7 separate regions of the Homo sapiens genome follow, and all the other regions are linked to region 1. Evidence: promoter capture Hi-C in 16 types of primary human blood cells and fetal thymus (Javierre and others, 2016). All regions are on one chromosome and are shown on one strand. Each heading gives the region's core, a stretch centred on a gene start or on the middle of the fragment in contact. The rest is flanking DNA. Distances are from core to core; before and after follow the strand shown.

Evidence for each region. Contacts are between HindIII fragments. The CHiCAGO score rates a contact against its expected background, and 5 or more counts as called.
Region 2: a fragment that was not itself captured here is called in contact with the fragment with the promoter of PLGRKT in region 1 in 1 of 17 cell types (erythroblasts); the score reaches 5.0 in erythroblasts.
Region 3: a fragment that was not itself captured here is called in contact with the fragment with the promoter of PLGRKT in region 1 in 1 of 17 cell types (erythroblasts); the score reaches 5.8 in erythroblasts.
Region 4: a fragment that was not itself captured here is called in contact with the fragment with the promoter of PLGRKT in region 1 in 1 of 17 cell types (neutrophils); the score reaches 5.6 in neutrophils.
Region 5: a fragment that was not itself captured here is called in contact with the fragment with the promoter of PLGRKT in region 1 in 1 of 17 cell types (neutrophils); the score reaches 8.3 in neutrophils.
Region 6: a fragment that was not itself captured here is called in contact with the fragment with the promoter of PLGRKT in region 1 in 1 of 17 cell types (neutrophils); the score reaches 6.0 in neutrophils.
Region 7: a contact is called between a fragment that was not itself captured here and the fragment with the promoter of PLGRKT in region 1, in 1 of 17 cell types (neutrophils). The highest score is 5.6, in neutrophils.

Annotation. Positions count from the first base shown.
Region 1 is chr9:5,436,666-5,439,365 of GRCh38, forward strand. It overlaps PLGRKT (plasminogen receptor with a C-terminal lysine), which reads right to left and starts at 1,260. Exons shown (of 6, transcript NM_018465.4): 1 at 1,124-1,260; 2 at 1-29. RefSeq lists enhancers at 562-1,761, 817-906, 2,467-2,626. The HindIII fragment of the contact is 16,310 bases long and covers 1-2,700 here.
Region 2 is chr9:4,726,254-4,728,953 of GRCh38, forward strand. The region is part of intron 1 of AK3 (adenylate kinase 3); the gene reads right to left. Among named protein-coding and RNA genes, the nearest start is that of AK3, 14 kb to the right of the region's middle. The HindIII fragment of the contact is 170 bases long and covers 1,366-1,535 here.
Region 3 is chr9:4,707,017-4,709,716 of GRCh38, forward strand. CDC37L1 (cell division cycle 37 like 1, HSP90 cochaperone) reads left to right here. Exons shown (of 7, transcript NM_017913.4): 7 at 1-1,383. It overlaps AK3 (adenylate kinase 3), which reads right to left. Exons shown (of 5, transcript NM_016282.4): 5 at 2,540-2,700. Among named protein-coding and RNA genes, the nearest start is that of CDC37L1, 29 kb to the left of the region's middle. The HindIII fragment of the contact is 2,060 bases long and covers 320-2,379 here.
Region 4 is chr9:4,835,115-4,837,814 of GRCh38, forward strand. All of the region lies in intron 5 of RCL1 (RNA terminal phosphate cyclase like 1), which reads left to right. Among named protein-coding and RNA genes, the nearest start is that of MIR101-2, 14 kb to the right of the region's middle. The HindIII fragment of the contact is 3,218 bases long and covers 1-2,700 here.
Region 5 is chr9:4,774,922-4,777,621 of GRCh38, forward strand. No RefSeq gene overlaps it. Among named protein-coding and RNA genes, the nearest start is that of RCL1, 17 kb to the right of the region's middle. The HindIII fragment of the contact is 6,914 bases long and covers 1-2,700 here.
Region 6 is chr9:4,689,894-4,692,593 of GRCh38, forward strand. The region is part of intron 3 of CDC37L1 (cell division cycle 37 like 1, HSP90 cochaperone); the gene reads left to right. Among named protein-coding and RNA genes, the nearest start is that of CDC37L1, 12 kb to the left of the region's middle. The HindIII fragment of the contact is 398 bases long and covers 1,223-1,620 here.
Region 7 is chr9:4,818,423-4,821,122 of GRCh38, forward strand. All of the region lies in intron 1 of RCL1 (RNA terminal phosphate cyclase like 1), which reads left to right. Among named protein-coding and RNA genes, the nearest start is that of RCL1, 27 kb to the left of the region's middle. The HindIII fragment of the contact is 7,813 bases long and covers 1-2,700 here.

The sequences.
Region 1 (2,700 bases), core at 10-2,509:
AAGAAGAGCTTCCTTATGGGAAACCACACCTGAGAATAAATAAATGCATCACACCTTGTAAATTTCACCCTGGAGTTCAGTATTTTCAACATTCTTTCCTTTCCCAACTTCCCCATTCCTGGCAAAGTCATTTCCCAAAGTCTGGGAATATTCCGTAGGGTGTCCAGAACACTTTCAGCTATCTCCTCTTGCTCACAAAATATGTATCAGAAAATAAGCAAAATTGACCTTGCAATAGGGATAACTTTGATTTCACTCACTTGTATAAGTTAAGTCTTTTAAAAATTCTAACACTTTTCACCAGGGGTAAAAAAAAATGTCTTGCTACTTATACAATTTTAAACATCACTGTGTCTCAGAGTGATGTTTTGCAGAGAATGCTGATTTCAATCCCTCTGTCTTCATTTTCCCTTTGATTCCTTCTGAGATCTTGGAAGGGGTCTTTAATGCTTCAGCCCTGCCTCAGGTGAGCTATAGATTACTATGGGAAGGTGTATTTCTGGGGAGGAGAAGTGGTGCCTGCAAGTTCCAGACAACCTTTCTTCCGGTCACCCGTGAGTACCTAGATTTGATTTTACTTGGGGGGACATAAAAAATTAATTGCATGAATTCTGTCATCGGGATTACCACGCTGACTTATTTCCCGATCAGATGACACATTGCCTGAATGTATGACTGATCGTCTCACCACAGTCATTTTCAATATTTGCATCCCATTGAAATTAAGCCACATCCCCTTGCAAATTCCAGCCCAGAGCCCACAGCTTCCGGAGGTTTTCTGTAATTAACACCGCCCTTGCTCCCTGAGGCCAGTTACTGTAATTTAGGTATTCCCCGCAATAGTGTGCTGATTTCTGTTGAGAGCACTGTGCCTGTTTTTCTCAACTCTATTTTAAAGCTACGGAGAGATCCGGAGTCCACGCCAGGCGACAAGAACGCGCTCTAATGGAACGAAGTTGGCAATACCTATCAGCACCAGGGGCAGTGCGAGAGCCAAGAGCCGGCGCTCACGAGGAGCGGGCGCCCAGCGCTGCCTGGCAAGCCCGGAGCCCAGGAGATCGCGCTGACTGACATGGCCGGGCTGACCCTTCTCCCCACCCGCCTGCGGCCGGTGTTCACTCACTGGGCGGCGCTGGTGCCGGGACCAGGCGACCGGTACGCAAACCTCCAGGCCCGGGCTCCTTTCGCCCGCTGCAGGGACCGGGCCTCGCTCCGCCCAGCGTCGGGATTGGCGCCCAGACACAGTAGATGACGCACCTCAGCCAATTCGCGCAGCCCTCAGCTTCTTTAAAGAGCCGGCACTTCCGCCAGAAGCCGGGTGTGTCCTTCCGGGCCAGGCTCAGTGTTACCAGAGGTGGGAGGGGAAGGTCAAAAGAGGCAAATTCAAAGCCGCGGCGACTCAGCTGCCAGATTTTTGAGATGAGGCAGAGGAAGCGGAGTGGAATTCTCAATTAAAGGCCTCTGTCCCCTCATCTGTTAAATTGGCACTATTAAAAAGTCATAAAGATAAGACAGAAACGAGAAAGAAGAGAATTGACTGAAATTACCCATTCTTTTTTGAACAGAGCCGTCTTTCTCCCCTGCTGCTCAGAGAGATGTCGGTCTCGCCTCAACCTCACCAGCAATTTCTATCTTGAATAAGCCACGTCTCTCTCCCAGCCTGAGAGAATGCTTGAATTGTTGGCACTCTGTTCTTTGCTACCAAATGGCTTGGAAAAATAGCATGAACGTCACCAGTCTCTGGCCTTCAGGAAAGTCCCTGCTAACCACCACAGCGGTGGAGAAGGCGTCTAACTTTCTCCAGGCTCAGCGTGTGAGTGCACACCGCCCTGACCTCCTGGGCGCGTCTTGATGCTCTCAACAGCAGCCCTCAGGATTCTGGACTGTGGGTCCCACATTCCAGATACCATTTGTGGAATGGCTGGATGAGAAAATTGCAACAGCACCCTCATTTCCAGTTAAGGGAATGGGCGGGTTACCAGGAGGTTTGACACTCTTGAAGGGAGGTTAACAACTGATGCAAGAAGTAAGGAATCGTGTTTGAGTGCACAGACTCTAGCATAAACACACCTACCTTCAATTTCTAGCTCTGTCACTGTCACTCTGAATTTATCACCTCTGCAACAGGACTAAAGCCATCTAATTTATTGGATTGTGAGGACTAAAAGATAATATATGTGGGCATTTAGCACAGTGTCGGGCACATAGTTCGCCTTCCGTAACCAGTAGTAACCAGTAACAGCGGGGAGCTGTTAGTAACTATAGGGCTGAGGGGTGGGGGAAGGAAGCAGTTACTAAAACCAGGCGAGAGCGAGAGCGGTAGCTGTGGCTGTACGAGAGAGTAACCAACTGGAACCGTGTCGTTCAGTAGAGGAAAGCAAGCAATGCCAACTTTTCACCAAGTAAGGTGAGATTCTATAGTTGTAGCCAGTGCTGAGACGTCAGCCCAAAGCAGGGACAGAGTGGAGAAGACCCACCTCTCTGTTCTCCCAGCTCTGATATCCAGCTGGGGTCTTCCGCTGGCTGGATCCACCAGGAAGCCAGAAGACAGTGGAGCTAGGTCTGTGTAGTCTGTAGAGGTCAGCCTACTAGGCACAATGCCTGGAGGGAGAAATAGAAAATATCCAGCACACCATTTCTTTTTTTTGTTTGTTTTTACACTTTAAGCTCTAGGGTACATGTGCACAACGTGCAGGTTTG
Region 2 (2,700 bases), core at 201-2,700, 710 kb before region 1:
CAACAGTAAAGTCTGTCTCATCAACTGACTCTTCTTTTCACCAAAAACTTCTCTGTAGCATGCAGTGTTGTGTGATAGTATTTTATCCACAGTAGAACTTCTTTCAAAACTGTAGTCTATCCTCTCAGACCCGCTGCTCCTTTTTCAACTAAGTTTAAGTCATATTCTAAATCCCTCGTTGCCAGTTGAATAATGCTCACAGCATCTTCACCAGGACTAGATTCTACCTCAAGAAACCACGTTCTTTGCTCATTCATTAAAAGCAACTCCTCATCCATTCAAGTTTTATGAGATTGCAGCAATCCAGTTACATCTTCAGGCTGCACTTCTAATTCTAGTTCTCTTGCTATTTCCACCATATGTGTAGTTACTTCCTACACTGAAGGCTTGAACCCCTTAAAGTCATCCATGAGGGTTGGAATCAACTTCTTCCAAACTCCTGTTAATGTTGACACTTTGACCTTCTTCCTGAATCATGAGTGTTCTTCCTGGCATCTAGAATGGCGCATCCTTTCCCTAAGTTTTTCTATTTACTTTGCCCAAATCCATCAGAGGAATCACTATCTATATAGCAGCTGAACCTTATGAAATGTGTTTTTTAAATAACAAAACTTGAGAGTTGAAATTACTCCTTGATGCGTGGGCTACAGAATGGATGTTGTGTCAGCAGGCATGAAAACAACATGAATTTCCGTGTACATCTCCAGCAGAGCTTTTGGGTGACCAGGTGCATTGTCAATGAGCAGTAATACTTTCAAACGAATCTTTTTCTCTCAACAATAGTTCTCAACAGTGGGCTTCAAATAGTCAGTAAACCATGCTATAAACCGATGTGCTGTCATCCAGGCTTTGTCATTCCATTTACAGAGCACAGGCAGGGTAGATTTAGATAATTCTCAAGACCCTCGGATTTTTGGAATGGTAAATGAGCATTGGCTTCAACTTAAAGTCACCAGCTGCATTAGTCCCTAGCAAGAGAGTCAGCCTGTCCTTTGAAGCTTTGAAGTCAAGCATTGACTTCTCTTCTCCAGCAATGGAAGTCCTAGATGGCATCTTTTTCCAATAGAAGGCTGTTTCGTTTACATTGAAAATCTGTTAGTGTAGACACCTTCATCAATGATCTTAGCTAGATTTTCTGGATACCTTGCTGCAGCTTCTACATCAGCACTTGCACTTTCCTGTTATAGAGACGGCTTCTTTCCTTAAACCTCATGAACCAACCTCTGCTAGCTTCAAATTTTTATTCTGCAGCTTCAACACATCTCTCAGCCTTCACTGAAATGAAGAGAATTAGGGCCTTGCTCTGGACTGGGCTTTGGCTTAATGGATGATGTGGCTGGTCTGATCTTCTTTCTAGACCACTCAAGCTTTCTCCATATCAACAACAAGGTTGTTTTGCTTTCTTGTGCTCCAGTGTTTACTGGAGCAGCACTTTTAATTTCCTTCAAGGTCTTCCTTTGCACTTACAACTTGGCTAACTGGTGCAAGAAGCCTGGTTTCAGCCTGTCTTGGTTTTCAGCATGCCTTCCTCACTAAGCTTAATCATTTCTAGCTTTTGATTTAAAGTGAGAGATGTGCCACTCTCTTCCTTTAACTTGAACACTTAGAGGCCACTGTAGGGTTATTAGTTGGCCTAATTTCAATATTGTTGTGTCTCAGGGAATAGGGAAGCTCGAGGAGAGAGAGACAAGGGAATGGCTGGTTAGTGGAACAGTCAGAACACACATAACATTTATCAATTAAGTTTGCCATCTTATATGGGTATAGTTCATGGCACCCCAAAACAATTATAATAGTAACATCAAAGATCACTGATCACAGATCACTTTAACAGATATAATAATAATGAAAATATTTTAAATATTGCAAAAGTTACTAAAAATGTAAAATAGAAATGGGAAGTGCGTACTTGTTGGGAAAATGGGGCCAATAGCCTTGCTTGACACAGAGTTGCCACAAAACTTAGATTTGTAAAAAAAGATACAGTACCTGTGAAGCACAATAAAACAACATATGCCTTTAAAAACAAGTGTTAGGCCAGGCACAATGGCTCATGCCTGTAATCCCGGCACTTTGGGAGGCCGAGGCAGGCGCATCACTTGAGGTCAGGAGTTCGAGACCAGCCTGACCAAAATGGTGAAACCCTGTCTCTACTAGTAATACAAAAATTAGCTGGGTGTGGTGGTGCATGCCTGTAGTCCCAGCTACCTGGGAGGCTGAGGCAGGAGAAGTGCTTGAACCTGGGAGGCGGAGGTTTCAGTGACCTGAATAGCTGCCACTGCACTCCAGCCTGGGCAACAGAGTGAAACTGTGTCTCAAACAAAAAAATAAATAAAAACAAGTGTTGGTAAGAATGTGGAGAAACTGTAACCCTCATATATTGCTGGTAGCATTATAAAATGGTGTAGCCAATTTGTAAAACAGTGTGGTAGTTTTTTTAAAGGTTGAACACAGTTACCAAGCCCTGTGTGGTGATTCACACCTGCAATCCCAGCACTTTGGGAGGCCAAGGAAGGAGTTTCACTTGAGGCCAGGAGTTCAAGACCAGCCTGGGCAACACAGCAAGACCATGTCTCTACATATATATATATATATATATATATATATATATATACACACACACACACACATACATATATATACACATACTTATATATATACATACATATAAATATATACATACATATATACATACATATA
Region 3 (2,700 bases), core at 100-2,599, 730 kb before region 1:
TAGCCTTTTAAAAAAGGAGTCTTAAAAATGATTTTTTTTTTAAAGGCAAGAGAAATCTTGTAGTGCTAACTGCCTTGAGCTGCCAATTACCTATTTCTGAGAATTTGGTGACTCTTATTGGTAATGATGGCATTTACAACATTTGGCATTTCCCCTTTTTCAGCTCAGTTACCATAGAATACTTCCAAGCTTTACTACTTCCTCTGTAAGTCATTTCAGTTATGCCAGGATATTTGATGATTTTGTTTATGTAGAATTAGGTAACAAAGCCAATTATGCTATCCTTATTATTGAAGGATTAATCTTATGACTTAACATAAGCTTTGGTTATATTTGGGTGTAGTCTTTGGCTAAGTACCCATTAAGGCTAGTAGCAAACACTTGGAAGGTGGCTAACTGGGACTGGGAATACGTGTCTCAACTTGAGAAACCAAATAGTGCGAAGGGACTCAGGGTGGCCAGACCTGTGACCTTGGCCTCATTTGTATCTTGTTTTCGCTGAGGTGATCAGACACTTAGTACCCTAGAAATGGACTGGAATTATTGAATCTTCTTCTGTAACATCACAATCTTCCTGGTTTTCAGAATAAACGTTTTTGTGCTTTTGATATAAATATATACTCTATAATAAAATGTTTGACTAATTTATATAGTAGTGTTTGTCAGCCTGTACTTTTTTTTTTTTTAAACCCATGACCTAGTCGTAGACATTTTTTTCTTTTTGTTCTGTTCTGAAGCAAGCTCTTATTTTTCCCTTTCTACCAAATTGAGAGAATGGGCAGACACAGGAGCCATATTCCTAGTTTCACAGAAATGTTACTTGAATTATTATTTTCCCTTCTTTCCCAGGATTTGCCTGTAAGCATTCAAATTGTTTTGAATTTCATTTTGCCTTCTCTAAGTTAGAGGTATTTAATGACTGAAGACTGGCAGGAGAGAAAGTATCAACAAACTGAGTAAACTATTCTTGAGGGGCACTGAAAAGATGTTCTTTGAAACTTGATTTATATATTTTTACTTGCAAAAGAATATACTGTGTTTTGAGTATGAAAGTGTGATTGGGTCTGTTGTGGGAACCACTGACTGATGCCATAATTTGCACTTAAAGGCTATAAATTACATAGTTAGCCGTACTTTAGTACTAGAAACAGTAAATTGACATCCTTGAACTAATTCCTACCTTTTTTTTGTTTCTGAAGAAATAAAGAGTATATTAAGCAAAGGGATAATTTATATTTCAGGTTGGACAATTTACCCTAAACAAATTAAACCATGGAAAGTGCAAACACATGAATGAAACATTTTTTTACATCAAAGTATCATCAAAGATTCTTGTTTCATTTGATAAAATTAATATTTGAATAAAAAAATTTTTAAATCAAATAGCTGTCCATTTATTCTCTGTTAACTCAGTGTCATTTTTTCAGTGGTAGTGAAGATAATACTGCCTTAAAATTATTACTCTTAGGTAGATGGGTAACATTCTCTTCCAATTATACCATTAGTGAGCTCTTTCAAATTTTGCCTAATGAGCTCACAATCTCTTATAACTTCTCTTTAGGAAAATCAGGTCCTCCTCTTCTTTCAGACTGGCATATCATATTATTACCCTTTTAAAAATGAATGAACAGCCGGGCGCAGTAGCTTACGCCTGTAATCCCGGCACTTTGGGAGGCCGAGGCGGGTGGATCCTGAGGTCAGGAGATCGAGACCATCCTGGCCAACATGGTGAAACCCTGTCTCTACCCAAAATACAAAAATTAGCTGGGCATGGTGGCGCGTGGCTGTAGTCCCAGTTACTCAGGAGGCTGAGGCAGGAGAATCGCTTGAACCCCGGGAGGCAGAGGTTGCAGTGAGCCAAGATGGCGCCACTGCACTCCAGCCTGGCAACATCTAAAAATGAAAATGAACATGCTGCCCAAAGAACATGAATCTGTTTTAGTAAGTGGATTTTCTAACAGGATGAAAAAAGTTGACTGTAGGTTTAGGCAAGGTGATCCTGAAGTTAACCTTTGGGTATTTTCAGAGGAGAACGAAATGTCAGTTTACTTTTCTAAGTCAATCATGTATTTCAGTTCTTAAATTGGTGTGGGACAGAACCGAGGTACTTGTCTGGGTTGAGGTTGGGCTTTCCATTTCATGGGCTTTCCATTTCAATTTTGCCATTATAGCAAACATACTTTTAACAAAACCCTTAAATCCATCCATCTCTCATCTGTAATGGACATGTATATACAATTGCATAGTTCTGAGAAGTTGATTTATCTGAAAATTATTTGCTCACTATGTGAGCCAAGGGGGTCGGGAGGGGGACACAGGGTGAATATAAGTTCATTATGGATTGTTCACCATCTAATATGAAGTGAAACCATTCTCATAAGCTTTGAAGAATTAGACTTGTTTGATCTCTAAATATAGAAAATGATTATTAAAATTCCCACATCTTTCACACAGTTAACAGCATGATTCTTCATGTTATTTACACATCAGACATTTAACTTGGAATGCTTTAGAAAAAGATGACACAGTGCTGGACTGATTTACACTTAGGCATGACAGTTTATTCAGTGCTATATATGGAAAAATCAGTGTTTATATTATTTAGTGAGCTAAAAACAAATAAAAAGCAGGAGGGGGATAAGGGCTCTACAAAGCATACTGGCTTTTACCAGAAGCTTTAAGCACAGCTACACTATTTTA
Region 4 (2,700 bases), core at 116-2,615, 600 kb before region 1:
CAGATTTCAGGTTGGTCTATGGCATTTGATGGTAGAATGGGGCATGAAGACAGGCAGGGGCCAGTGAAGAGCTGAAGGTGGCTGGAATCAGATACTATGCAGAACGCAAAGAAAGGAGGGTGGAACCCTGTGAGGCCACCAAAACTTGAAAGCAAGAGTTAAGTAAGGAGGGAAGTAAGAGTGGGGAAGAGAATAAACAAAACATAGCTTCCTGGAAGCTCAGGTCAGCACTTTAAAAGGCCCTGAGGAGTTAGCATTGGGGTGGGGGAAAAGCTGAGGGACTCAGCAGCAGGCTGTCACTGATGCCCTGGGGAAGAGTGCTGGATCCCTATCCCAAGGGACTAATTCTGGGTTGTGGAGTGAAGGGGAGGGAAACAGCGGCTTGTGGGGACCACTCTTTACAGAACCTTGACAGGAAAGAGAAGGAGAAGGAAGGATGAGGGAGTAACTTGATGAAGCGAGAGTCAGGGAGACTCCCTCCCTTTTACAAAAAGATTGGTAAGGATTTGAGTGTTTTTGTAGGTTGTTAATGTAGATGAAGCAAAGTAATGAGCTGATTAAAAGCCCAGGTGCTGGAGTCAGAAAGACGTGGGTGCCGACGCCGGCTGCGCCACTTACCAATGGAAGCATTTGGCCGTAAGCCTTGGTTGCCCGTATATCTTTAGTCCTGTTATAACTGCTGTGCGAGACTGTCATGAAGGTAAAATGAGATCGTAGTTGCACAGTAGGAGGCACTGGTGTGTAAGTAGCATTGGGTAAATGGTTACTACTATTCTTTTTATTCTTACTTGAGAGGGGATGGATTCAAGGCCACAGGCATACGGTAAGGGTGGCTCCAGGTAGAGCTGTGTGGAGGTGAGTGGAAGGGGGTTGGGATGAGTTTTCAGTTGTTACCGAGTTAGGATGGGATTGAGGGTAAGGGGATGGGCGGGGTAGGATAAGAGAGTGTGACAAGGATGGTAAAGATGTGCCTTCACAGGGGAGCATCATAACTGAAGATAAGAAAAAGGCTGTGTTCCAGCAGTAAGGTCCTTGCTGAAGGTGTAATGTTAACACAGTGCCAGCTGCATGGCCATGTGGCTATATCCAGTGGCAGTTGGCAGCCTAGAGGGAGGAGTAGAGAACGTGGGAGGACCAATTTCATCCAAGGTTGGATGCAGGTTGGCAAGGTGGGTGGGTCCTACAGGAGGACAGTTGGAGGGTGGGTGCTGGAGCATTGGGAAGTACATTCCTCACTGAGGATTGTCACAGGGGCTCACCAGCCTGGACAAAGCAGGTCAAGGGATGAGAAACTTTAACAGGCTTAAAGATCAGATCTAGTGGAAATAGATACATGTACTGTGTAGGACAAGAGATTGTGTTTAGGGAGTTTTGTTTTGGGATTTCAGATATTAAAAGTGGTAAAATTCTAGGTGCTGACAGGATCTGGGTGGGAGCAGGTGTTGGAGGCCGTAGAGCAAGACAGGCTGTGGGATGACTTTCCTGGCGGGAGTGTGACAAGGAGGGCAGACCAGAAAGCCTGCTTGTCAGGGCGGGGGTGGGTGCTTAAGGTCGGGTTTTGTGTTCTCAGGAGGTTTGGCAATGGTATTACTTGGAGGAAGAAAGGTGTAGCGTGGACTGTCTTTTCAGAGGCCTCGAATAGCTTGAACAGTAAGTGGTGAAGGGCAGGGAGTAGGGTGGGCTGCAGAGCCATGTGCAGAGAGAGTGCTGGTTAAGATAGAAGCTCAAACTTGGGTTGCTGCCTGAAGTTCTTTTTAAGGATCATCAAAACCACAGGAATACATAATAACAAAGCCTTCCTGGGTTATGGTCTGTTCTCTGCATGGCTGTCCCCCAGCCCATGTAAGCGCCCAGCCTTGTGTGTACCAGGAGAGAACAGGCAAAAGGAGAAATGGTTCCTTTCCTAGGAGCCCCCAGGTTGATGCATAGTTACATTGCCCAGGTGACTTTCTAAGGTGATATTCAACTCTAGTATCCAAATCCGAGGAGCTGGAATAAGGTTAATTAGGTTACAAAGAAATGGAAATGCAATGTAACTAGGTGTGTGTTTTTGAAACCAAATGTGCCTTTTCTACTTGAATTCATTCTTATTAACAGATGCATTGTATTCCACCATATATAGAACCCAAAATCAAATCCTGTTGATGGCCATTGAGTTGTTTTTTGCTTTTCACTGTTGCCAAATACACTGCGGTTAATGGCTTTAACCACAACATTTTTGGCAATGGTGAAAAAAAGTGTAATAAGTGTATAGGAATACACTTTCCAATACATTCCAATAAGTGTACAGGAATACACTTTCAGTACTATTTTGGGTTTGTCTGGGGGGTAGTTGTTTTTTTTCCTCCTTATTTGAGATGTGTTTCCTTAATGCTGTATTGGCGGCCGTGAACTTTGTTTGGAATCCAGTCTCTGTAGTCTGGAAATGTGATTTCTGGCAGTGTGCTCTGTTTTGACACAATCTTGTCATAACAACATGGGTTTCATCACAGTGGGGTCCCCCTTGTTCTCTCTGGGTGTGCAGATGGTCGTGTCCTTTGATGATGATGCTGGGAAATGGGGAAGGGCTTTCCAGGGGAGAACATAAAAGTTAAAAGAGCTGTAGTGCCGGGCACCTTGGGTGTAACTATGTTCCTCCCTGGCTTCTCCCTCTAATGTTCTTGGAACCTTCCCTGTGTAGAATCTGAGCCAGGAAGAGAC
Region 5 (2,700 bases), core at 168-2,667, 660 kb before region 1:
CACTCTGTCTCAAATAAAAAAAAAAAAAAAAGAGAGAAAAACTTAGATGTGAGTAGAACTTTTTTTTTCTTTCTTTGTTTTATTATTATTATTATTATACTTTAAGTTTTAGGGTACATGTGCACAATGTGCAGGTTTGTTACATATGTATACATGTGCCATGTTGGTGTGCTGCACCCATTAACTCGTCATTTAGCATTAGGTACATCTCCTAATGCTATCCCTCCCCACTCTGTGGCACATAGACACCATGGAATACTATGCAGCCATAAAAAATGATGAGTTCATGTCCTTTGTAGGGACATGGATGAAGCTGGAAACTATCATTCTCAGCAAACTATTGCAAGGACAAAAAACCAAACACCGCATGTTCTCACTCATGGGTGGGAATTGAACAATGAGAACACATGGACACAGGAAGGGGAACATCACACACCGGGGCCTGTTGTGAGTAGAACTTTTGAAATGCTTCATGGGGCTTGAAAACGATTTGGTCTTTGTCCTCTTAAGTTGTTTCAGTATTACTGCAGTTAGAGGACAAAAGTCCCCAGAGGAAGATGTAGTCCTAACTCAATGTAAGGAAAAGGCATACTTCTGAGATGAACACTAACAAGAATCCATGTATCATGGACTGGGTTGGGTTTCTAATACAGAGATTTGCAACAGGTATGGATTCCAGATGTGTGGAAATATTAAAGGTCTTCTCTTTGGGATGGCGAGGCAGAGTCTTGGGGTGGTCAGACTCTTAAGCCTGCTGTCTTTGGTGATGAGCATCCTCACTCTTCTACTCGAGAGTGCTTACAAATATTATTATATTATCTGTGTGGTTGAGAAGCACTGGCCAGAGCAATGGTTTCTATATTCTTCAGACTGATGCTGATCTGTGAACAAGTCTTCACCAGCCTAGAGAAAAATGATAAAAATGTGAACATGTAGTGAGGTTTGCATAAATCTAAATGTATTCAATTCAAAGGGCTATATTGTATTTTGAAATTATGTCCTTTTTTTGAGAGAGAAAGTTTTTGGTCAATGAAAAATACACAGAAATCTCATTTATCACCTGTCAGACTGGCAAACATATGAACGTTAAACAGTATACTTTTTTAGTGACATTGTGGAAAAAGAGGTAATTTCCTATGTTGCAGGTGAGAATGCAAAATGATTTGACTTATATTGTGATGGTTTATTTTATGTGTCAGCTTGACTGGGTTAATGGATGCCCAGATAACATTATTGGCCCGGCATGGTGCCTCATGTCTGTAATCCCAGCACTTTGGGATGCTGAGGCAGGCAGATTGCTTGAGCTCAGGAGTTTGAGACCAGCCTGGACAACATGGTGGAACCTCGTCTCTACAAAAAATACAAAAAAATTATTAATAGCTGGGCATAGTGACACATGCCTGTAGTCCCAGGTACTTGGGAGGCTGAGGTGGGCGAATTGCTTGATCCCAGGAGGTCAAGGCAGCAGTGAGTCAAGATTGTGCCACTGCACTCCAGCATGGACAACACAGCAAGACCCTGTCTCAACAACAGCAGCATTATTTATGAGTGTGTCTGTGAGAATGTTTCCAGAAGAGACTAACATTGGAATTAGTAGACTAAGTAAAGAACATCTCCCTCACCAATGTGGGTGGGCCTCATCCAATGCGCTGAGGACCCAAATAGAACAAAAGGTCACAGGAAAGACAAATTTGATCTTTCACGCTTGAGCTAGGCTAACCATCTTCTCCTGCCCTTGGACCTTTGAGCCTCCGGCTGTCAAACCTTCAGACGTGGACTAAACTACACCATTGGCCTTTCTGGGAATCTAGCTTGCAGATAGCTTATGGTGGAGGAAGACATCCAACAAGGAAAGGAATGACCTACCTGAATTCAAAGCTCCCAGGCATGCCATGCCAAGCACATGTTTAAAGTTTAAAAAATTCTAAGAAAACCTCCTTCTTGTCTCTCACCAGCAGTGAAATTGTTCAGTCCTCTGAACAGACATTTAATTTACCATGAGGTGGGGTACAGTGGCTCATGCCTGTAATCTCAGCTACTCGGGAGGCTGAGGCAGGAGGACTGTTTGAGGCCAGGAGTTTGAGACCAGCCTGGGCAATATAACAAGATCCATCTTCAAAAAATATAACAAGAATTAGCTATGCACGATGGCGTGTGCCTGTAGTACAAGCTACTTGGGATCGCATGAGCCCAGGAGTTTGAGGCTGCAGTGAGCTATCATTATGACACTGCACTCCAGCCTGGGTGACAGAGCAAGACCCCAGCTCTGAATAAATAAATAAAGCAGTGATCTTGCTATATCTAGTCTCCCTAGGCAGCAGAGAACAGAAAGGCACTAATAAAATATGCTCAGGACAAAATTTACTCTTCTATACTTTATATAAGATTACAGATAATAACTTTTATTATCAGTATAACTACCAATATGATACTCTTATTTTGAACATAACTTTCTTTCTTTTAAACGTTATTTTGAACTTTATTTTGAACATTCTTTGTCTTTATTTTGAACTTTCTTTCTTTTGAACTTTCTTTTTTTTTGAACTTTCTTTCTTTTGATCTTTCTTTCTTTGAACATTTTTTCTTTCTTTATTTTGAACTTTCTTTCCTTCTTTTTTTATTTGCCTCAGACTCCCAGGTGGATTATAGGCACCTCCCACCATGCCCGGATAATTTTTGTATTTTTTTGTAGAGGCGGGG
Region 6 (2,700 bases), core at 172-2,671, 750 kb before region 1:
TGGTGAAACAACATTCCTCAAGGTGTTTTCACCCAGCTGGCACTCTGAAAGTTGGTTGCTTTGAAGCCATGAGAAACCTAGTAAATGAGAAGCAGTTCTTTCACTTTTGCTGTAAGCTGAGTGCCTTGTTCAGAAGCAATTTTGTGTAGGAAAATATCCAAATATCACAAAGTGTTGTAACCCATCTGGCACTATGTATCTTCAGCATTTTATAAAACCTGCTTCTGGGTAGTGATGTTCGTGATGAGAACAGTGAATTTCATGAACCCTACAGTCTTCATTTCTTTTGCTGTAAAATGAGTTTCTGGGTCAAAAAATAGTGTGGTATGGTGAATAATTCATTTAGTAAGACTACAGATGTATTACTGATTAGAAGCATGGCAAGGAGGGAGGGCACTTCCACATCTAGAGTGGGCTCGTTCAAGTGAGGAATTACCAGTCCCTCTGAGATGAAGTGGGACCAGGGTAGTCAACCTGCTACTTGATGGCTGGCTGATCTCTGCAGTGCATTGTGCCGTATTGAGATTTTGGTGTTTTTCGCTACTAGTAAATTAGGTGTTCAGTGGCTAAACTGGATTAGGATACTAGAACATCCTTGAGGGGAGAGTCTACACTGTCGAATCTATGCATAATCACAAACCTATGCCACCACGACCCCTGAATTTATGAAACTATTGTGCAAATAATGAGATAGTTGAGGAAAAAAACTGACTTAACATCCACAGGTGATTAATAAGCAATCATTTTGCTGTTACGTGTTGTGAACTTCCAATATACTATCTTGTAATAAATATCAGAGCCTTGCTGTTTTCACACCCAGCCAGACCAATAGCCATTCCCAGAGTCACAATGTGCCTGTTTCTTACTGAAAATGCATGTTGTCTTTAACTTCAAAGGAGATATATTACTTGCCACAGCACACTGGATCCCCAGGAATGTTACAAAGGTAGTAGGCTCTCAAAATGTTCATGTGTTTTATTTCCCACTCTGGAATAGATATATCTTAACAAGAGACCTGGAATACCTGCAATTTCTGCTTTACCAAGTTCCATCAGTGGAGAGTGGACCAACTTGTAGTCATGGGGAATGATGAGATAATAATCCCTGTGGACTGAATTATGGCACAGAGTTGATAGAGGTGTGACACAAGACAGTGAAAATTTGTGGCTATGCCTGCTTGATGGAAGATTTCTGTTGTATGCTTATTGTGATGAAAGAAGAAAGCTTACCAAAATGATGACTATATTGGTATACTCCTTTATTTTGTTTTTTTGTTGTTGTTTAACTTTTGTTTTAAATTCAGGGGTACATGTGCAGGATGTGCAGGTTTGTTACATAGGTAAGCGTGTGTCTTGGGGATTTGTTGTACAGATTATTACATCACCCAGGTATTAAGCCTAGTATTCATTAGTTATTTTTCCTGATCCTCCCACCCTCCGCCCTTCGGTAAACTCCAGTGTGTGTTGTTCCCCTTTATGTGTGCATGTATTCTCATCATTTAGCTCCCGCTTATAGGTGAGAATATGCGGTATTTGGTTTTCTGTTCCTTTGTTAGTTTGCTTAGGATAATGGCTTCTGGTATACTCTTCTAAACACATCTGCAATAGGAGATGTAATTAAAGCTTCCAGTTGGAGGCTTTCTGGACTTGGATTGCATTCTGGACTCTTGGTTGACACGGGCCTGGTGTGTGTGGGGGCTGTATAGGGCTATAGGGGCTTTACACCCATGTTTCTCTGTGGTCTTATTTGTACTTATATTCTTCAGAGTTTTTCCTAACTTTTCCCTTATACAATTTGTTGACTGCCTTTCTTGTGCTGCTTTTACCCTTACAATTAGGTGGAATTTACCACCTAGTGGTAAATGGTACAATATATCATGGACTATTATAAAGCATTGAAATCTGACTTTTTCCTCTACATTTGTATTTAGTTTATTAATTTAGTTAATTCACGTTTTATAAATATAAAATATTAATTTAAAAACAAAGGCTTTTATCTCTTAAATTTCACAACCGTTATATTCACAGTTATATGCATGTTTGACATCACTGGCTTTATGGTCATCAGAGCTGCTTTTTGAGTCATCTAATTTTCAGAGCACATCATCTTCACTTTCAGCCAAAGTTAGCTGTGATTCAGCTTTTTTTAATCTGTGTAGGATGTTGTCACTGGAAATTTTACCAAGAGCTATAAAAGTTTGCTCAAATACTATGATAGAAGTTTTTTCGTTTGTTCTGACTATGAATATTTACAACCTCTTCAATGTAATTGTTCATTGCTTTTAAAAAACATATCAATATCTTATTTTTGAAAAACATTTAATATAAAGCACTCTTACATATGAAGTGAAATGAATAGAAAATGTATATGATTTTAATGTTTTTTTTTTTTTTGAGACGAAATCTCGCTCTTGTCCCCCAGGCTGGAGTACAGTGGTGTGATCTCAGCTCACTGCAACCTCCGCCTCCCGGGTTCAAGCGTTCCTGCTGCCTCAGCCTCCCGAGTAGCTGGGATTACAGGCGCCTGCTACCACGCCTGGCTAATTTTTGTATTTTTAGTAGAGATGGGGTTTCACCATGTTGGCCAGGCTGGCCTTGAACTCCTGACCTCAAATGATCCGCCCGCCTCGGCCTCTCAAAGTGCTGGGATTACAGGCGTGAGCCACCACTCTGAGCCTTAATTTTGGTTTTTTAAAAAGTC
Region 7 (2,700 bases), core at 184-2,683, 620 kb before region 1:
AAATAAATAAACATACATATTTGCAAGTGAGTGGATGTCTTAATTTATTCCAAGAATTGAGTATGTGTTTGCAATGTCTACCTCTTTGGATTTAATGAGGAAAGGAATGACTCCTAATTTTGCATGTTAACAGCTCACTGTCTTGTCTTCTGGTTATTCGCTAAAGAAATTGAAATCCGGCCGGGCTAGGTGGCTCACGCCTGTAATCCCAGCACTTTGGGAGGCTGAGGCAGGCGGATCACGAGGTCAGGAGATCAAGACCATCCTGTCCGGCATGGTGAAACCCTGTCTCTACTAAAAATAGCTGGACATGGTGGCACGTGCCTGTAGTCCTAGCTACTCGGGAGGGTGAGGCAGGAGAATTGGTTGAACCCTGGAGGCGGAGGTTGTAGTGAGCTGAGGTCTTGCCAGTGCACTCCAGCCTGGGCAACGCAGCAAGACTCTGTCTCAAAAAAAAAAAAAAAAAGAAAAAGAAATTGAAATCACATTATATATATAACTTTTAAACTTTTCCTCACATAATTAAATAATTATTTTAAAAGCATTTCTTAGGGGCACATGGTATTATAAAGATCTGTCATAGGCCATTTAATGAAAACAGTTTTGTTGGCTATTTAAATCATGTTGGAATATCTTTGTTTTGTTTATAATTTAAATTTTGTGTATTTTAAGAAATATGCACATGACACAAAATTCAAAGGGAATAAAAGGGTTTATAGAGCAGGGGTCCTCAACCCCAGACAGGGCAGGGTTGGCAGAATGGTTGAAGGATGAAACTGTTCCACCTCAGATCGTCAGGCATTAGAGTCTCACACGGAGCCAGCAGCCTCGATCCCTTGCATGTGCAGTTCACAATAGGGTTCATGGTCCTATGAGAATCCAATGCCATCACTGATCTGATCTATGAAACTGGACCCTGGTGCCAAAAGGTTGGAGAGTGCTGGTTTAGAGAATCTTTGAATTAAACAGTGTTACTAGTTTGTTGTTTTTTTCCCCAGGCTTTTTCTTTTTCATAAATAAGCAAATATATGTACATATATGTACACTTGTTCTTTATCCGCAGAAATGGTCACTATCAATGTACACTATCTGGTGATGGTACATTAAAAACAGAATTTGCTCACGCCTGTAATCCCAGCACTTTGGGAGGTCGAGGCGGGGGGATCATGAGGTCAGGAGATTGAGACCATCCCGGCCAACATGGTGAAACCCCATCTCTACTGAAAATACAAAAATTAGCTGGGCGTGGTGGCACGCGCCTGTAGTCCCAGCTACTCGGGAGGCTGAGGCAAGAGAATCGCTTGAACCCGGGAGGCGGAGGTTGCAGTGAGCCAAGATCGCGCCACTGCACTCCAGCCTGGTGACAGAGCGAGACTCCGTCTCAAAAACAAAACAAAACAAAACACAGACTTTATCAACTTTACCACTACTCAATATATCCATGTAATACAACTACACTTGTGCCCACCAAATTTGTACAAATAAAAAAATGCATAAGATATAAAAGTAGTGCATAAGAGATCGTAAAATGAACACCTTTGTGACCCCCCCATCCACAAAAAGAAATATAACTTTGCTAACATCTGTACATCTTTTAGCTATTTACAGCTCCTTGCCATGCCTCTACTGGTAGCCACTATCCTCACCATTATAGCATTGACTTTGATTCTCTTTATAGTTTTATAACCTAATTATGTATTCATAAACAGTGTAGTAAAATTGTGCTTGTTTTTGGAGCTTTTCCCTGAACGTTTTGAGATACCTGAAATCTTGTAGCCCCAGGAGCAGTCTTGAAGAAGAGGAGTCAGCAGGGTGTGTGGGAGGTGAATGGGCAAGGAATTCTACACAGGTTGGCCTAGTAAAGTTTGGGGACTTTGATCTTACCATTATTAGGTGGACTTGAGATCTTTTCTTGTACCAGGTGATGGAGTCATATCTTCACTGTTGCCAGGGCTCCGGAACTAGCTCTGAGTCTGCTTCTTTGAAGTGCTGCTTCTGAAGCACCGGTTTGCCGTGATCAGGGATGGTCCTGCCTGGAGTTCTCTTTATGCCCATTCTCTTTCTACTTTTGTTCTGCTGGGCGTTTCTGGTTTTGTTTGTGTGTAAGAGTCCGTGTGGATTGCAAAAAACAAAATCTAGAAAGTAAAGTCATGGTTTCTTCCTTTTTTCTTTTCTAATTTGTAAAAATCTGTGGGGTTTAATCTTAGGCTTTATTTGTAGGTGCTTGTTCCTCTATCCCATTTAGACACTTAGAAAGTTTGAACAAATCAAGGGCTTTCCTTTTTTCTGCAGAGCACGTTAGATTTTCTATAAACCTAAGTAGAAAGTGGCATTGTGGTAGAGATTGTGCCTGATTTGTAAAGAATGTTAAAAAGATCGTAGAAATAATTTCTAATTCAATTCCGTCGTTCAGATACTTTCAAACTCCTGTGATGCTACTTACATCACAACCTATTACACATACACATATGTGTAAAACAGACTGAAGTTTCACGAACAGCATCCTTAGTATATACAGTTATTCCAACGTAGTTTATTCTGTTCTAATTTTTTTTAATGTTGATTAGAGATCCATTAAATTAACTATAAGATCCTTCAAGAGATCAGTGCCTATAGTTGAAGGTACCATGATTTTCTAGAGGAAGAGGTTAGCTCCAAGGAATTAAACTGAACAGAGGCAAACTAGTGTCGTGGTGTGGC